4 separate regions of the Homo sapiens genome follow, and all the other regions are linked to region 2. Evidence: promoter capture Hi-C in human tissues and cell types (Jung and others, 2019). All regions are on one chromosome and are shown on one strand. The core of a region is centred on a gene start or on the middle of the fragment in contact, and the rest is flanking DNA. Distances in the headings are between cores, read along the strand shown. Region 1 has its middle 34 kb from the start of TRW-CCA2-1. Region 2 holds the start of RNF112 (ring finger protein 112). Region 3 overlaps LOC105371574 (a long non-coding RNA gene). Region 4 overlaps B9D1 (B9 domain containing 1).

What was found. Contacts are between HindIII fragments. The study calls those that stand out against the background at their distance.
Region 1: a contact is called between a fragment that was not itself captured here and the fragment with the promoter of RNF112 in region 2, in 1 of the 25 tissues and cell types used here (lymphoblastoid cells).
Region 3: a contact is called between a fragment that was not itself captured here and the fragment with the promoter of RNF112 in region 2, in 6 of the 25 tissues and cell types used here (liver, lymphoblastoid cells, mesenchymal stem cells and 3 more).
Region 4: a fragment that was not itself captured here is called in contact with the fragment with the promoter of RNF112 in region 2 in 2 of the 25 tissues and cell types used here (neural progenitor cells and spleen).

The regions. Positions count from the first base shown.
Region 1 is chr17:19,472,006-19,476,618 of GRCh38, forward strand. No RefSeq gene overlaps it. Among named protein-coding and RNA genes, the nearest start is that of TRW-CCA2-1, 34 kb to the right of the region's middle. RefSeq lists an enhancer at 3,101-3,938. The HindIII fragment of the contact is 4,473 bases long and covers 1-3,745 here.
Region 2 is chr17:19,409,342-19,413,676 of GRCh38, forward strand. RNF112 (ring finger protein 112) reads left to right here and starts at 1,891. Exons shown (of 14, transcript NM_007148.5): 1 at 1,891-2,121; 2 at 2,289-2,329; 3 at 3,157-3,442; 4 at 3,597-3,803; 5 at 3,939-4,070; 6 at 4,236-4,335. The coding sequence starts at 2,068. The HindIII fragment of the contact is 25,812 bases long and covers 1-3,967 here.
Region 3 is chr17:19,450,780-19,455,073 of GRCh38, forward strand. It overlaps LOC105371574 (a long non-coding RNA gene), which reads right to left. Exons shown (of 3, transcript NR_188341.1): 2 at 2,806-2,881. Among named protein-coding and RNA genes, the nearest start is that of LINC02094, 35 kb to the left of the region's middle. RefSeq lists enhancers at 2,119-2,620, 2,621-3,120. The HindIII fragment of the contact is 5,812 bases long and covers 1-4,294 here.
Region 4 is chr17:19,355,869-19,360,671 of GRCh38, forward strand. B9D1 (B9 domain containing 1) reads right to left here. Exons shown (of 7, transcript NM_015681.6): 2 at 4,452-4,520; 3 at 1,972-2,083. Among named protein-coding and RNA genes, the nearest start is that of B9D1, 4.5 kb to the right of the region's middle. RefSeq lists an enhancer at 1,834-2,333. The HindIII fragment of the contact is 5,514 bases long and covers 1-4,803 here.

The DNA of each region.
Region 1 (4,613 bases), core at 259-2,758, 62 kb after region 2:
GAACAAGGCGGGTGGATCACCCGAGTTCAGGAGTTCGAGACCAGCCTGGCCAACATGGCGAAACCCCATCTCTACTAAAAATACAAAAATTAGCTGGGGGTGATGGTGGGTGCCTATAATCCCAGCTACTCGGGAGGCTGAGGCAGGAGAATCACTTGAACCCGAGGGGCGGAGGTTGCAGTGGGCTGAGATTGCACCATTGCACCCCAGCCTGGGCGAAAGAATGAAACTCCGTCACACACACACACACACACACACACACACACCCATAAATGGAGTGTACACATGGTCCTCTGTGACTGCCTTCTTTCCTTTGCATGTGCTTCCAAAGTTCATCCATGTTGGAGCATGGATCGGTATCTCATTCCTTTTCATGGCTGGAGAATATTCCAGTGTAGGATACACCACATTTGGTAATCAGCTGATGGACATTTGGGTTGTTTCCATCTTTGGCTACCGTGAACATACCATGAATGTTTAGGTAAGAGTTTTTGTGTGCATATATATTTTCATTTTTTTTGATATAATCTAAGTGGATTTGCTGGGTCAAATGGTGACACTGTTTAGTTTGGGAACTGCCAGTCTATCTCCCAAAGGGGCTTCAACACTTTACATTCCCACCAATAGCATTTAAGGGTTTCATTTGTCAACACTTCTCCAACTTCTTGCCAACACTTGTTATGACTTGTCTTTTTTTACTATACCCATCCTAGTGGGTGTCAAGTGGCATCTCAATGTGGTTTGGATTTAGACTTCCATGATGACAATTGATACTGAGCATCTTTCCATGGGCGTTGGGCAGTTTGTTTGTGTGTGTGTATATGTGTGTATATATATATATATATATATACATTTTTTTTTTGAGACAGCGTTTTGCTCATGTTGCCCAGGCTGGAGAGCAGTGGTGCAATCTCTGCTCACTGCAACCTCTGCCTCCTGGGTTCAACCAATTCCCCTCCCTCAGCCTCCCGAGCCTCCTGAGTAGCTGGGATTACAGGCATCTACCACCAGGCCCGGCTAATATTTTGTATTTTAGTAGAGACAGGGTTTCACCACTTTGGCCAGGCTGGTCTCGAACTCCTGACCTTAGGTGATCCACCCACCTCAGCCTCCCAAAGTGCTGGGATTACAGGCGTGAGCCACCGCGCCCGGCCAGTTTGTATATCTTCTTTGGGGAAATTTCAGATCTTTTGTCTATTTTAAAAATCCAGTTATTTGTCTTTTTATTATTGCATTGTAAGAGTTCTTTATATATTTGATATGTTTGGGTCACAGGGGCAGATCCCTCATGAATGGCTCAGTGCCCTCCCCATGGTAATAAGTGAGTTCTCACTCTGTTAGTTCACTAGAGAACTGGTTGTTAAAAGGAGCCTGGCACCTCCTCGCCTCTCTCCCACTCTCCCACTTGCCATGTGATGTGCCTATTCCCTCTTTGCCTTCTGCCATGATCGTAAGCTTCCTGAGGCCTCCTCAGAAGCTGAGCAGATGCGGCTGCCTGCTTGTACAGCCTGCAGAACTGTGAACCAAATAGATGTCTTTGTAAATTACCCAGTCTCAGGTATTTATTTATAGCAGTGCAAAAAGGACTAACACAATATTCTAGATATGAATTCCTTGTCAGGTATATGATTTGCAAATATTTTCTCCCATTTTGTGGGCTGTCTTTTCATTTTATTGGTAGTGTCCTTTGAAACACAGAAGTTTTTAATTTTCATGAAGCCGAATGTATCTATTTTTTATTATGTCGTTTATGCTTTTGGCATCATATCTAAGAATCCAAGCTCACAAAATCTTAGCCCTATGTTTTCTTCTAAAAGAGTTACAGTTCGGGCTCTTACATTTTGGTCTTTGGTCTATTTTGACTTAATTTTGTACATGACATGAAGTGGGCATACAACTTCATTCTTTTGCATGTGGATATCCAGTTATCCCAGAACCATTTGTTGAAAAGACTATTATTTTTCCACTGAATGGTCTTTGCAGCCCTGTTGAAAATCAGTTGACCATAGATACATGAATTTATTTCTGGACTCTCAATTTTATTCCATTGATCTATATGTCTATCCTCATGCCAGTACCACCGTCTCTTAGTTACTGTTGCTTTATAGTAAATTTTGAAATCCAGAAGTATGAGTCCTCCAACTTTGTTCTGTTTTCAAGATTGTTTTGGCTACGCTGCTGCATTGAGTACCCACACAGATTTTAGAACCAGCTTGTCAGTTTCCTCAAAGGATCCAGTCATTATTTTGATAGGATTGCATTGATTCTCTAGATCAATTTCAGAAGTACCAACATCTTAACAATATTCCCACCCATGAACGTGGAAAGTTTTATTTAGGTCTTTCTAAATTTCTTTCAATGAAATTTTGTAGTTTTTAGAGTATAAATTTTATACCTCTCTTATTAAATTTATTCCTATGTACTTTACTATTTTGAGGATATTTAAAATGTAATTATTTTCTTAATTTTATTTTTGAATTATTCATTGCTAGTATATATTTTTTTATTTTTAATTTCTTTTTTTTAACATTTTTTTAAGAGATGGGATCTTGCTATGTTGCCCAGGCTGGTCGTGAACTGCTGAGTTCAAGCACTCCTCCTTGGCCTCCCAAAGTGCTGGGATTATAGGTGTGAGCCACCACACCCAGCCCATTGCTAGTATGTAGAAATACAATGGATTTGGCTGGGCGCAGCAGCTGATGCCTGTAATCCCAGCACTTTGGGAGGCAGAGGTGGGCGGATCATGAGGTCAAGAGATCAAGACCATTCTGGCCAACATGGTGAAACCCCATCTCTACTAAAAGTACAAAGATTAGCTGGGCGTGGTGGCGCTCGCCTGTAGTCCCAGCTACTCGGGAGGCTGAGGCAGGAGAATTGCTTGAACCTGGGAGGCGGAGGTTGCAGTGAGCTGAGATCACGCCACTGCACTCCAGCCTGGCGACAGAGTGAGAATCTGTCTGAAAAAAAAAAAAAAAAAAAAAAAAAAAAAGCAATGGATTTTTGCATAGCAATCTTTTATCCTGCAAACTTGTGGAATTAAAACGTTTTAGTGGATTCCTTAGGATTTTCTGCATATCCTGTGGATTCATCTGGAATAGGGATAGTTTTACTTCTTCCTTTCCAATCTAGATGACTTTTATTTCTTGTTTTTGTTTAAAATCTCTACTACAAGGTTTAAAAGAAGTGATGGTCTTCTAAGTTCTTGATCTTAGGACTGGGGTAAAACATCTGTCTTTCACTATTAAGTGCAATGTTAGCTGTAGGCTTTTCTTAAGGTGCCCTTTAGAAAAATCCCACGCTCCCTCTCCCTCCCCCTCCCCCCTCCCTCTCCCTCTCCCCACGGTCTCCCTCTCCCCACGGTGTCCCTCTCCCTCTCTTTCCACGGTCTCCCTCTGATGCCGAGCCGAAGCTGGACTGTGCTGCTGCCATCTCGGCTCACTGCAAACCTCCCTGCCTGATTCTCCTTCCTCAGCCTGCCTAGTGCCTGCGATTGCAGGCGCGCGCCGCCACGCCTGACTGGTTTTCGTATTTTTTTGGTGGAGACGGGGTTTCGCTGTGTTGGCCGGGCTGGTCTCCAGCTCCTAACCGCGAGTGATCCGCCAGCCTCGGCCTCCCGAGGTGCCGGGATTGCAGACGGAGTCTCGTTAACTCAGTGCTCAATGTTGCCCAGGCTGGAGTGCAGTGGCGTGATCTCGGCTCCCTACAACCTCCACCTCCCAGCCGCCTGCCTTGGCCCCCCAAAGTGCCGAGATTGCAGCCTCTGCCCAGCCGCCACCCCGTCTGGGAAGTGAGGAGCGTCTCTGCCCAGCCGCCCATCATCTGGGATGTGAGGAGCACCTCTGCCTGGCTGCCCAGTCTGGAAAGTGAGGAGCGTCTCTTCCCGGCCGCCATCCCATCTAGGAAGTGAGGAGCGTCTCTGCCCGGCCACCCATCGTCTGAGATGTGGGGAGCGCCTCTGCCCCGCCGCCCCGTCTGGGATGTGAGGAGCGTCTCCGCCCGGCAGCCACCCCGTCCGGGAGGGAGGTGGGGGTCAGCCCCCCGCCCGGCCAGCTGCCCCGTCCGGGAGGGAGGTGGGGGGGTCAGCCCCCGGCCCGGCCAGCCGCCCCGTCCGGGAGGTGAGGGGCGCCTCTGCCCGGCCGCCCCTACTGGGAAGTGAGGAGCCCCTCTGCCCGGCCACCACCCCGTCTGGGAGGTGTACCCAACAGCTCATTGAGAACGGGCCATGATGACAATGGCGGTTTGGTGGAATAGAAAGGGGGGAAAGGCGGGGAAAAGATTGAGAAATCGGATGGTTGCTGTGTCTGTGTAGAAAGTAGAAGACATGGGAGACTTTTTTTTTGTTCTGTACTAAGAAAAATTCTTCTGCCTTGGGATCCTGTTGATCTATGACCTTACCCCCAACCCTGTGCTCTCTGAAACATGTGCTGTGTCCACTCAGGGTTAAATGGATTAAGGGTGGTGCAAGATGTGCTTTGTTAAACAGATGCTTGAAGGCAGCATGCTCGTTAAGAGTCATCACCATTCCCTAATCTCAAGTACCCAGGGACACAAACACTGCGGAAGGCCGCAGGGTCCTCTGCCTAGGAAAACCAGAGACCTTTGTTCACTTGTTT
Region 2 (4,335 bases), core at 641-3,140:
TGGGCCCTGTACCTGTGGTTTGCCCTGCCTTGACAACCTTTTTCTACCTCCTTGCTTATCAGGACAGCCTGACACCCCTCCTCACCCTCCCCGCATCCAGGTTCTCACCCAGATCATAGCAATGCCTTTTAATTGTCCAGTTGGGATCTTGGGGAGGATGGAGCTTTGTCTCTCTTGTTTCCAGCTGTACTGCAGTGTGAGACACAGTACCTGGTGCTCAGTAAGTATCATTAAGTGAAGACTGATTGTCCCATCTGCTTCCTCACATCTTTGCCTGGTGATGAGCAAATGGAAGCTCAGAGAGGGCAGTGACTCACCAGCATTTCATGCTGGGATGGAGGCAGGTTTAGAGCTTGAATCTGAGTCCAGCGCCCACGCTTTCTCTCCTGCAAGGATGAAAGGCTACAGGGGTTGAGAAAACCCTCCCTTCTGCCCTGAAGGCAGAGCTGTGGCACGGCTCAGGCTTGCTTCCTCATCCCCTGAGTGTGAGGCTTTGCTGCCAACACACAGGGGCTTGTCCCACCTGGGGCAGGAGGAGGCAGAGTCTATGGCACTGCTTCTCTGAATCTGATTGATTCAGCCCCACAATCTCAGGCCCTCCAGACACCAAAATGAACAAGATCCAGCCCCAGCTTCAGGGGTGTCTCCACCTGCTGAAGGTGGTCTCTGCTGAACTTTTCTAGGTTCTGAATCCCACCTCACCCCAACCCTTCTGCATCCTAGCTCATAGGATGTACGAATGACTCCCGTGCCTGGACTAGTGGCTTTACATAGGTAATGGTGGCTCCTCAGAGCACAGAGAGGTGCAGTGGAGTCCCAGAGCCCCTGAGCCGAGAATCAAGCCCAGATCTGCCTGGCTCTGAAGCCTGGGCTGCGCCAAGCCTATCACATATCCCAGCCCTCAACTGTCCAAGAACAAGACCGCACCCAGTTGGGAGGGGTGAGGAAAGGAGGCTCTAGGGAGGCCACAGCACCTGCACTGGGCCTAAGAGGGTGTCCCAGGAGGGATGAGAAGGAGCAGAGCAGCCAAGCCAGGGTGCAGAGGCAGGGAAGAGTGGGGCGAGAGAAGGGTGGAAGGAAGGTTCAGCCCAGTCCGCAGGCCGGAGAGTTTGGATTTTGATCTGATGGTAGTAGGGAGACACAAAAGGTGTTTGCGCAGTGTGAGGTCATCTGTGCTTGGGGAGCCTATGCTGGCTGTGCACTGGGGAGTGGAAGGGAGGCAAGGAGCCCAGTCAAGAGGCCATTAGAAGGTCCAGAGGTGGCTCATAGTTTTGATAGATTTCATCCTGCTCAAGTTTGAGGCAGAGTGAAAGCTATTGGGAGGGAAATACACCAGAGGACACGGAGGGCCCATGAGTGCTGAAGAAGGCTGCAGCTGGGTTGGGCGTCGATGACATAAACCTGAGAGAGAGCAGGAGGATGTGCAGGGCCATGTGAAGTAGGGTCTGCATTTGGGGGCTCTGTACATAGTAGGTACTCAGTAACTGTTCATTGGATGAATGGATGAATAACTCCTTGTCTCTGGGTCAGCTCTGGTCTTACCCTCTCCTGTTTCTCACACCTCTTCTCTTTGCCCACCCTGTCCTGTGGCCCTGGGGAGACCTCAGCTGGCCCAGTAGAGGCAGTGCTGGCCCATGGTTCTGCCGGAGGCGCCTCCATGTTTGCGGGTGCACCGCACGCCTTCTCCCTCTCTGTCCCCCTCCCCCTCCCTGTCCTTATCTTTCCCTTCTGTCTCCATGGCGACTCACCACCTCGGCTTGCCTGCATCCCAGCCTCTGCCAGGGATTCTGAGCCGGGCTCCATCCCTCCCTCCTCGGAGCCCTGCTACCCGCAGCCGTGTCTCCTCCCCCTGGGGTGAGTCCAGCAGCAGCCTCCTCTTTCCTGACTGTCACATTTCTTTTCCAGCTCTGACCGGGAGTCAGCTCCTCGGGGATACCATCCCCCGACCTCACCTTCTACCTACCGCAGCCTGCTAGCCTTTCCGGGAGAAAAGGCATCCTTACCTCTGGTTGAAGGTCTCGGGGCCTCCCCCTCTGCATCCGGACCCTCTCCCCATCCCAGCCTCCCATGCCAAGGCCCGCCTTGTCAGTCACTTCCTTTTGTCATCGGCTTGGCAAACGGGCAAGTCTTCAGTCCTAAGATCGGGAAGGAGAGTGGGGTGGGAAGGGCCCTCCTTGGGCTGGGGGATGGGCCGGGGGTGGGGAGGATGAGGGGTCCCTGGAAATCCAGGGTGAAGATAGAAGTCTGGATTATGTTCTAAATCTTTTTTTTTTTTTTTTTTCTCCAAGGAGAGAAAACAGAGCTTCATGGGAAACAGCGGCAACAGTTGGTAAGTAGCAGGGCCTTCCAGGCTGGGATGGGTGCAGTGAGGCCAGGCAGGTCAGTTGAAATGGCCGGTCCTGGAACACAGAGCCCGGCAGCCCAGCCGGGAGGGCTGTCCGCCTGAGGCTGGATCCGCCAGGCTGTGGAGGGAGGGACAGGAAGAAGCAGGTGGGTGCTGCAGGGAGGCAGATGCCAGCTCAGAGCAGAGAGCGGAAGGAATCTTCTAAGATCCAGAGCCATCTGCCCAACTGCAGCACAGGCTGATGGCTTCTCCTCACTGTCCCTGTAGCATGGGGTTGTGGAGGGTATCATCCCTGGGGGCCTGGCTGAAGTCAGCACCTCATGGAGGGAGCCCCGCTGTAGAACGCCGGGAGAGGCTCTTCCCAAGCATTTGCACCAGGCACTGTGCAGACAGCTGCACACGCCTCCTCTCGGATGGCCACCCCAACGGCCCCATGAGGGGTATTGCTATCCTCTCCATTGGGACAGTTAGGAAATTGAGGCCCAGAGAGGGGAAGGAACTTGCTTGCATTTGCATGGCTGGGATGTGGTGGAGTCCATTCCACTCAGATTTTCTCCCTCTCAGACTCTCTCACCATTGCTCTGCTGCCCCCACTCTGAGGCCCCCAGGTCCTAGGACACATGTCAGTGAGGAACGGGCAGAGCTTGGCCTCTCTGGGAGCAGCTCCGCCTGTCCATGGAGGCACTGATGGAAATTGGGTTGGCACAAAGGGACCTCCACTCCCAAGCCATCAGTCTTCCACCACAACCCTGGCCGGTACCCCCTGCCCCCAATAGACATCCTGCTTTTCAATGGCCTGTTTTGCCCCACAGGTCCCATACACCTTTCCCCAAGTTGGAGCTAGGCCTGGGGCCCCAGCCCATGGCGCCCCGGGAGCTCCCTACCTGCTCCATCTGCCTGGAGAGGTTGCGCGACCCCATCTCGCTGGACTGTGGCCACGACTTCTGCATACGGTGCTTCAGCACACACCGTCTCCCGGGCTGTGAGCCGCCCTGCTGTCCTGAGTGCCGGAAGATATGCAAGCAGAAGAGGGGCCTCCGGAGCCTGGGCGAGAAGATGAAGCTCCTGCCGCAGCGGCCGCTGCCCCCTGCACTGCAGGTCTGGGGACTGGGCCTAATCAGTCAGACCCAAGAGGAGGGGGTGGCTTTGGCCCTATTCTAGAACATCAGGACACAGAGCTCCAGGCTGAACACATTCCAGGGTCAGGAGCTGGTCCTGGATGCTCAGGGGCCCCTCTCTTCTCCTGGCCCAGGAGACGTGTCCTGTGAGGGCGGAGCCGCTGCTGCTGGTTCGCATCAATGCCTCTGGGGGCCTCATCCTTAGGATGGGGGCCATCAACCGCTGCCTGAAGCACCCTCTGGCCAGGGACACCCCAGTCTGCCTCCTCGCTGTCCTGGGGGAGCAGCACTCAGGGAAGTCCTTCCTCCTCAACCATTTGCTTCAGGGCTTGCCGGGCCTGGTGAGGGCGGGGCGGGGCAGGAGGGAGGCGGGGAGCAAGGATGGGGGTTCCTGCCTGGGGGAAGCTGGGTCTGGTATTCCGGTCTGTGGGGACAAGGAACCGACCAACTGATGCTCTCCCTTCTCTCCCCTGCAGGAGTCTGGTGAGGGCGGCCGGCCAAGAGGAGGAGAGGCATCCCTGCAGGGCTGCAGGTGGGGCGCCAATGGCCTCGCCAGGGGCATATGGATGTGGAGCCACCCCTTCTTGCTGGGGAAAGAAGGGAAGAAGGTGAGGGGGGAAGTGGCAGAAGGAGGTCAGGGATGGGAAGGGGAATCAAGAAGGGCGTCTCTGGGGTGAGGATAGAAGATGGGGATGGGACGGGGCAGGGTTGGGAAGAATGTGGGAGAACAAGGCAGGCCTGGCCCCTTGGGTCTTTCCCTACCCCCTGCATAGGTGGCGGTGTTCCTGGTGGACACAGGGGATGCCATGAGCCCTGAGCTGAGCAGGGAAACAAGGATCAAGCTCTGTGCTCTCACCACGATGCTGAGCTCCT
Region 3 (4,294 bases), core at 705-3,204, 42 kb after region 2:
GTTTTGTTGGTGCATGCCTGTAATCCCAGCTACTCAGGAGGCTGAGGCAGGAGGATTGCTGGAACCCGGGAGGTAGAGGTTGCAGTGAGCCAAGATCACACCATTGCACTCTAGCCTGGGTGACAGAGCAAAACTCCGTCTCCAAAAAAAAAAAAAAAAGAAAAAAAGAAAACAGATCCAACTGAGAGGGGAATAACAGGCAAATTGGCATCAGAAAAATCAATCCCGTGCTTGTGTGCGGTTATAAATACCTCTGAAAATTGAGGACTTGCCCGTTGTTAGTGGATTGTTTCATCACTGTATTAAACGTAAAGGGGACAAGATAGAAGATGTGGTCTTCTAGGCACTGGCTCCATGGAACACTATCTGGGGGAACTTTCTTTAACACAGATAATGCAAATGCCTATTTTTCTAATAACAATTAATTTAAAAAATTTCTATCTTCAATAGTGAGAAAAACAAACAAATAAAAACAGAACAATAACAACAACAACAAAACAATGAATGAACAGACCGGGTGCAGTAGCTCATGCCTGTAATCCCAGCACTTTGGGAGGCTGAGATGGAAGGATTGCTTGAGCTCAGGAGTATCACGCCCAGCCTGGGCAAGATAATGAGACCCTGTTTCTACTACTACTACTACTACTACTAATAATAATAATAATAAATAGCCAGGAATGGTGATGTACACCTATAGTTCCAGCTACTCAGGAGGCTGAGGCAGGAGGATCACTTATGCCCTGGAGACCAAGGCTGCCATGAGCCATTAACACACCACTGCACTCTAGCCTGGGTGACAGAGAATCTGTCTCAAAAAAATAAGTAAACAAACAATTAATGGACAGATGTTTGGAAGACAAAGTTTACCTCCCAGAATTCTATAGACCTTTCCAGAGATGTGGAATGTTAGCATTTTTATTTATTTTTTATATTTATTTATTTATTTATTTATTTATTTATTTATTTATTTAGAGACGGAGTCTTGCTCTGTCATCCAGGCTGGAGTGCAATGGCACGATCTCTGCTCACTGCAAGCTCCGCCTCCTGGGTTCATGCCATTCTCCTGCCTCAGCCTCCCGAGTAGCTGGGACTACAGGCGCCCACCAACATGCCCGGCTAATTTTTCTGTATTTTTAGTAGAGACGGGGTTTCACCGTGTCAGCCGGGACTGTCTCGATCTCCTGACATTGTGATCCGCCCGCCTCGCCCTCCCAAAGTGCTGGGATTACAGGCGAGTCACCGCGCCTGGCGCAATTTTGTTTATATGATTCTGATATCGTCCCATTTAACACATCAAAAAATGCACAAATACATACTTTAAAAACATTCTACAGTTCTTTGACTTTTAAAAAATATCTTTCAAAAATCTTTTTAAGAATGCTTGACATTGTATCTACCCTCTTAACATGCAGACATGCACACGCAGGGTCATGCACACACACACTGGCTGGGACTGGCAGAAGGGGCCACTGTGGTGTGCCTGCAAGCCTAGGGGTGGGCCCAGGTGGCACCATGGCAGGGGCAGATCTTGGTGGTAGTAGTAAATATTCAAATGAGCGTTTTGAAGGCCAAAGTGGAGAAGGATTCCATGTGAAAAGCAGTTGAACATGGGTCAGTCGGTCCTGAGACAGGCGAGCATCATCCCAAAGGAGTAGGCATTGGCCTCAATCGCTGTCAGTGATAGAAAGGGAGTTGGGTTTGGATTCCCAAATCCAGAGTGGCGGAGATAGGAAACACCAAGTTGCCTTCTCCAGTGCTGTATCCTGGAGGAGCCGGCAGGAGCCCAGGGAGAGATCTCTTTTTCTTGTGAAGTGCAGGGCGTGCTAGAATAAATTCACAGTTCTGGAGACTTCTAGTGGCACTTGAGAATCCGGGGAAGGGGGTGCAAATCTCCGTGGCCCATATACCAGCAGGTCTCCCAGGTGAACAGCCTCTGGACAAAGTAGGTAAGGGAAGTCATCCAGCCAATCACTTACTTGGGAATAAAAATGGGCTCTAAGGGCTCGTCAGGTACTCTTGACTGGTGAATATGGTTTGGATGTCTGTCCCCTCCAAATCACGTGTTGCAGTGTGATCTCCAGTGCTTAAGGTAGGATCTGGTGGGAGGTTTTTGCGTCATGGGGGTAGATCTCTCATGAGTGGCTTGGTGCCCTTCCTGAACTGATGAGTGAGTTCTCACTCTATTAGTTCACATGAGAGCTGGTGGTTTAAGACAGCCTGTCATCTCTTGCTCTCTCTCTCACATGTGACACAGTGGCTCCCCTTTGCCTTTGGCCATGATTGGAAGCTCCCTGAGGCCTCACCAGAAGCAGGTGCTAGTGCCATGCTTCTTGTACATCCTGCAGAACTGTGAGCCAAATAACCCTCTTCTATATAAATTCCCCCAGCCTCAGGTATTTCTTTATAGTGAAGCAATATGGACTAACACACTAGATAAGGTGATTAACTTTCCCATCCTCACCCAGGATCCCCTGGACCTTAGATATCTCCAGCCTCCTGCCCCCAAGGAAGGGTGGATGTAGGGCCCTAGTGGGAGAAAGGGTCCTGCAGTGTCATGGGGTCGCTGGGTTCAGGGACTGTGGCTGTGGACAGGAGCTGGGCCTTTCCCATGGATAGCCCCAGCTGCTGTGGGCCTCGTGGCTGCCCAGGGAGCCCCAGTCTCCAGCAAAACCTCAGCCAAGGGAATGTGCTTGGAAGGATCTTGGGGAAAGACCCCAGAGACTGAGCGTGGTCTGGCCTGGTGAGGAGACAGAGGAGTCTGCTACTCCTGTGGTTTTCTCCAATGACCAGCAAGAGCATCCTGACCTCCAGGAATTTTCACCACCAGCTCTGGGGAGGTCCACTGGTGTCCCAAAGCAGGCCAGGGTTGACAGAACTTCCCCTGGAACAAAAGGGGGAAAGTGCACTTGATTTTCACTTTCAGGATGAACGGGAATGCAGGGCCTCTCCATCCTTCTAACTACGGGGATTTTACTCAGGTGACGTCAGACAAGTCATACAGGGATCCAGGTGAAGTGCACATCCCCATTTAATGCAGAAATACACAAATTGAGTTCCGATCTCCTGCCTGTCAGCACGGCCCCTACTAACCCTGAGACAGCATCCTCAGATTTTCAAAATGAAGGGAACTTCGCTGTCAGCAAACAGCTGTGGTACCCAGGTGCTCTGCCAAAGAAGCAACCAGGAACTTTAGAACTGTGCTCTTCAAATGCCTGGCAACCCCTGCACTTTTCTCCGTGAGAGGTGATCAGCCAGGGTCAGAGTGGAAACGCTAAAGAAGAGCTCCCTGGGAGTGTGGGCACCACGATAAGTCTCATCCCCAGACACCTCTCCACAGCCACTTTGCCTGAATTGCCAAGTGAATGGCGGTGCTGCAAACACTTTTGCTTTTAGTAGGTCTTTATGCAAGGAAATAAAAAATCTCAGGACCACTCAACTCCTTCTGCCAAAGGGAAAGTTAAGCCTGGAGGCTGAGTCACTGGCAACACCCTCTTCCAAATGAATTGCTGTTACTTCACAACCTTGTGTCAAAGCATTAGGCATTAGCTAGACCCCCATGGAAGGGCCTCAGGCATCTCCAGATGACAACCCCCACAAAGCACTCATAAGTAAACTCTTATGTCAATTGACTTGACTTACTGTCAATCAAGGAAAATAACCCAGGCAAGTCTCAATCATTTTGGGAGGCCTATTTGCCAAAGTTAAGGATGCACTCCCAGAGACAGGTCTATGCCTTTCTCTGAAGATAATTTTGGTGGCTTCAATATTTAAAGGGGAATGGGCGGAATATTGAGAAATACACAACTTTCATGTGAGAGCGGGGTAGGGAAAAACAGTCATTCATGCCTTTGCCTGGCTCAGTGAATCTGAATTTTTACATGAGATGCCATAGACCATAGGGCAGAGGAAACAGTAAGATATGCATTTGTCTCACATGGGCAGAAGCATGAATCTGAGCTCTGTCGTATGTCCCAGCACCTGTGAAGATAAGCTATCAATTTACATTGCCATGGTGAACTGCAAGAGAAACATTTTAGAGTAAAGATCTTGAGGCCCATAAGGATCTTTACCCTAAAATGTGAGGGAGGTATGTAGCTTTTCATCTTTGCAGCCATCTTATTTGTGACCCAAAATGGGAGGCAGGTTTGCATGCGCTGGTTCCCAGCTTGACTTTTCCCTCTGGCTGAGTGAGTTTGGGAGTCTCAATATTTATTTTCCTTTCACACACCTTTCAAGATGTCTTTCTTCCCATAAATAAGGACTTGAGATGTGCAATCCAAGTCCAGCTCCTAAA
Region 4 (4,803 bases), core at 1,499-3,998, 53 kb before region 2:
AATTCTCAGTCTGTTTTATCTCTTTTGATCATAGTAAAAATATATCTGACAATTTCAGTGTCTAGAGATTCTGTTTATCTCTATTGCTTTATTGCCTTATTTTTGCTGGTTATCATTTATGTTGTCTTGGTTCTTGTGTGCCTCATTATATGCCAGATACTACATTTGAAAAAATATATAGAAATAATTTTATGTCTATGAGATGTTATCTTTCTCCAAAGAGTTTTCTTTCTTTTTTTTTGAGACAGGGTCTCACTTTGTCACCCAGGCTGGAGTGCAGTGGCATAATCTCTGCTCACTGCAGCCTCGACCTCCTAGGCTCCAGCGATCCTTCTGCCTCAGCCCCCCAAGTAGCTAAGATTACAGGCGCCCACCCCCATGCCAAGCTAATTTTCGTATTTTTAGTAGAGAGAGATTTTTGCCATATTGCCCAGGCTGGTCTTAAACTCCTGAGCTCAGGCGATCTGCCTGCCTCAGCCTCCCAAAGTGCTGGAATTACAGGCATGAGCCACCATGCCCAGCCCAAAGAGGTTTCTAATTTGTTTTTGTCAGGTGCCTTGGTGTAACAATCTTGGAGCTGAATAGAAGAATCAGGAGGTTGAAATCATCAGGGGCTGAGCTGAAATCCCTGTGAGGCTGCTCTGCTTCCATCTCTCCCTTATTCCTAGGGCAGCTCTTTGAGGTCTTAACCCAGTTGGTGAGATTTACCTGAGGCCCTCCTCCCAACCCCTTGGAAGGCTCTGAACATCAGTTTTTTTGTGTCCTGGACCCAGAGAGGCTGTCAAAAGTCTTGATCAGTCTCTCAATCACCTCTATTGAAATCAGCAAACACTCCCAGAGGAGATGGGATTGGGGTAACCTCTCTGGATTTCTGTTCTCCTGGATCTTGCCTGGTAAATCTCTTCTACTTTGCTAGCTCTCTGATGCCTCTGAGGTAGTTGCTTTTTGTTTTTGCTTTTGTGTATTACATTTACCTCTCCTACCTGTCCTCGGCAGGAGGAGGTTCGTCCAGTACCTACAGTACCTATTGCACTGTTCCAGGAAGTCTATTGAAACTTCCTACTCATGGATGATGACAGCAGGATGGAATTCCCTGCTCAGGAGGACCACCAAGCATTTTCTGCTCCAGACCCTCCACACCGTGGTAAGCCTAGGCCCAGGCCACGTGCAGTAGAAAGGCCTAGATTGTGAAATCAGATGGGCCTGAATTAAAATCCACACTTGGTCACTAGATGTAAAGCAGAAGGCAAATGATGTCAATTTTGAGTGTCAGTTTCCTTATATGGGAAAAGAAATGGAGAGAAATCTCTCCAGCAGGTATGATTGGGAAGCTCGGATAAGTCCACACAGTGAAAGTATTCATAGTCCCCATGGAGACTAAGCCCAGGCTTTGTGCACAGTAGGCACTTATGAAGTGCAAGTGAACAATCAGAATGGTTAATAACCACCAGCCAAGGTAGAAAGTAAGCAATGCCAGCCAGGAAGCCCTTGGGAAAGAGGTTAGACATAGGACGTGGGAATGGTATCCAGACAGATGGATCGGCATGAATAAAGCTCAGATGAAGAAAGTTGAGGGACTAGCACAGGAGGAGAAAGTGCCAGGGTCTAGCCGGAACACAACACGCCATGGGAAGTCAGCAGGCACAGAGTCAGGCCTCCAGGCCAAACAGCCACAGTCCTGCATGCCAGGGTGGGGAGCCTGCCTTTTACAGGCGTGGCCACTAGCCCTGATGCACTCTGAACTTCCAGAAGGCCAGCTGCACAGCCTGTAGCAGATGAAGGGGGTGAGTGGGGATGAGGAAGAAGAGGAGGGAAAGGGACAGATGGCGAGAGAGAACGTTGAGGGCTGCTTCAAGAGCCCAGGTGACAATCTGAATGTGAACAGTCATGGGCTGGATGAGGCAGAGGCTGTCTTGGGGGTGCTGTGTGAAAGCTCTGCCACCCTACCCCACAGGGCCCCTGCAGACTCACAGCCGTAGGGGTTGGTGCTTTTAAAGGTGACATCAATGGGGAAGTTCCACACCAGTGCTTGCCGCACATCTTGGCTCTTGGATGTGATCTGTGAGATCCCCTCCTCCAGACCCTGTGAGGACAGTGACACAGACGGCTGGATTCAGAGCAGAGCCAAGCTGCTGCGGCTCCTCCCCTTACCTTCAGCAGGCAGTTGGGAGGGCTGTTTTCTCAGCTGTCTTCTCCCAAGACACGAACTTCCAAACAAAGGGGACTAAGAGATGATGGAGTACCTCTTTAAGTCTGGTACTTTAACGCCGTAGCTTGACAACCCTGGGAGGCCAGCCACTCTCCCGGGCACAAGGGCACTAGATCTGGTCCCAAGCTCTTGCCCCACTGAAGGAATGGTCCAGCATGCTTACACTCTCCTGCATCCCCACCCTCACCTGAGTATCCCCATCCTCACCTGAGTATCCCCATCGGTAAATACGTAAATGTGTTTTCTCCATCAAAAATAGTCCTCTTTCAACTCTGCGGCTTCTTCCACCCACCAACCCTTTCTCTGCTCCCTTTATAGCAAAACTGCCTCAAAGAGCTGCCACACTCACCGGCTCCAATTCCTCCCCTGCTATTCTTTTGTGACCCCACTCCAATGTGACTGCTGGCTCCAGCACTCTACCAAAGGGTTTTCTCCATTAATGCCCGTGACCAACATTGCTAGATCCAATGGTCATTTCTCTATCCTCGTGTTACTTGACCCATCAGCAGCACCTGATGCAGCTGCTTACTCCTTGATACACTGTCTTCCCTTGGCTTCTGGGTCTCTCCACTGCACAGGGTGGCCCCTGCTCAGTGGCTCTTGCTGGTTCCTTCTCAGTGTTGCCGTCCTAAGGCTGCATCTTTGGCCAGCTCCTCTACCTGTACTTGGTGATCTCATCCATCTCATGGCTTTCAATGTGCTCTAGATGTCGATGATTCCCAAATTTATGTCTCCAGCCTGGTCCTTGCCTCTGCACTCTGGATCAGCACCTCCTCTTGGATATCCAGTGGGTGCCTCAACCTTAACCCACACCAGGCTGAGCTCCAGGTAGCTCTCCCCAATCTGTTCTTCTCACTGAAAGGCAGCTGCCTACTTCTAAGTGCTCAGGCTAAAAGCCCTGCTGTGAATCCTAACTCCTCCTTCTCTCAGACCTCACATCCATCAAAAGAACCCAGCGGCTCTATCTTCAGAATATACTTGCAGTCCAGCCCCTCCCACCACCCCACTGCCACTGCCCTCCTCTCCCATCTCCACTGCTGTCAGAGCCAACTGGGCTGCCTGCTCTTGCCCTTTCCCCCCGAGTCTATCCTTGTCGTAGAAGCCAGGGAATCTTCTAAAAACATAAGTCAGATCACTTTCTCTGCTGAAAGTTCTCCAGTGGGATCCCATCTCCCTTTGAGTAAAGGTCACAGTCCTTACTCTGACAAGACCTGCCCAGGTGCCTCTCTGCTCCAGCCACTCTCCTGCTGGCTCGCTCTCCAGTGGCCACACAGCCTCCTTGCTGGTCCTCAAACATGCCAGGCAAGCTCCTGCTCCAGGGCCTTTGCACTCTCTGCTGTTTCTGCCTGGACAGTTCTCACGGGTTTCCACATGGCTTGTTCCCTCACTTCCTTCAGGTCTTTCCTCAAAAGTTACTTTCTCGGCAAGGCCCTCCCTGGCAGCCTTAGCGAGATCGCAGCCTCCTTCTCATCACTCATCCCTGTCACTTCCTGGCTTGGTCTCCCCTCACACTTCTGGCTTACTAACATCCTAGAATATGCACTCCTTATTATCTGACCCCCCAGCAAGAACGTGCGCTCCGGGAAGGCAGGGTCTTCTGGTTTGGCTTTGCTCACCCCTGCATCCCCAGCACCCAGAAGACAATCAATAAAGGGAAAAGAAGGATTATCATCTCAGTTGTACAAATGAGGAAACTGAGGCTCAGAGAGCTTAAATAAGTTCAGTCTCCTTTTCTTAAACTGCTATGAAGATGAAACAAGTGCTTTGCAAACAGCAGAGCACAGAGCGGGCTGAAGTTGTCACCACAGTCCCTCACCTGGTGGAGGCAAGCTACCCCTTGGGAAGTCCTGGAAGGAGAGCTCCTACTCTGTCTTTTTACTCCAGGTCCTCCCCACTGGCTGAGGAGAGGCCAAATGGTGAGCGGACTGGCCAGAGTGTCCACAGCTCAGCCACGTCCAGGCTGGCTCACTGGGGCCTGCCTCCTACTGCAGGTGTTGCTCTTTGCTGCCCCGGGGAAGCTCACAGGGTAGGGCTTCTGAGTGCAGTCTTGGTGGATGGATCAGGGAGTCCAACCATGGCTGTGTCCTCTGCTCCCGCTTTACCAGGAACACTCATGTTTGGGTTCCCCTGAACTCAGTCTCTACCTCTTAACTTGTTCTGAATGGGGAGGGGAAGGATATGACACCTTCAGAAACCCCAAAAGTCATGAAGGCGGTAAGGGAGGCCCAAGAGTCCAGCTTACCGCTGTGGGGGCCCAGTCCTGGCCGTACACAAAGCAGTACTTGCAGTAGAGGTCATCATACTCTGGAAACTGAAAAAAGCACAGACAGATTCTGTCGACTGGTATTCATGCTGAGGCCAATGCATTTGCTAGGCAGGTGCAGCCAAGGGGAATTCTGAACGTGAGACACCTGGGAGTGGGTCTAAGAGACGGCTGGAGATGTGTTCAGAGGAGAGGCTGAGGACCAAGAAGCGGGAGTCCACGGGAGACTCCCAGGTGCCACGGCCCCTGGCTTTTGCTCAGGCTCTGCCTTGTCTGATTTGTCCTTCCTACTTCATCCGGAAAACTCCTGCTCACCCTTCAAAACTTACCC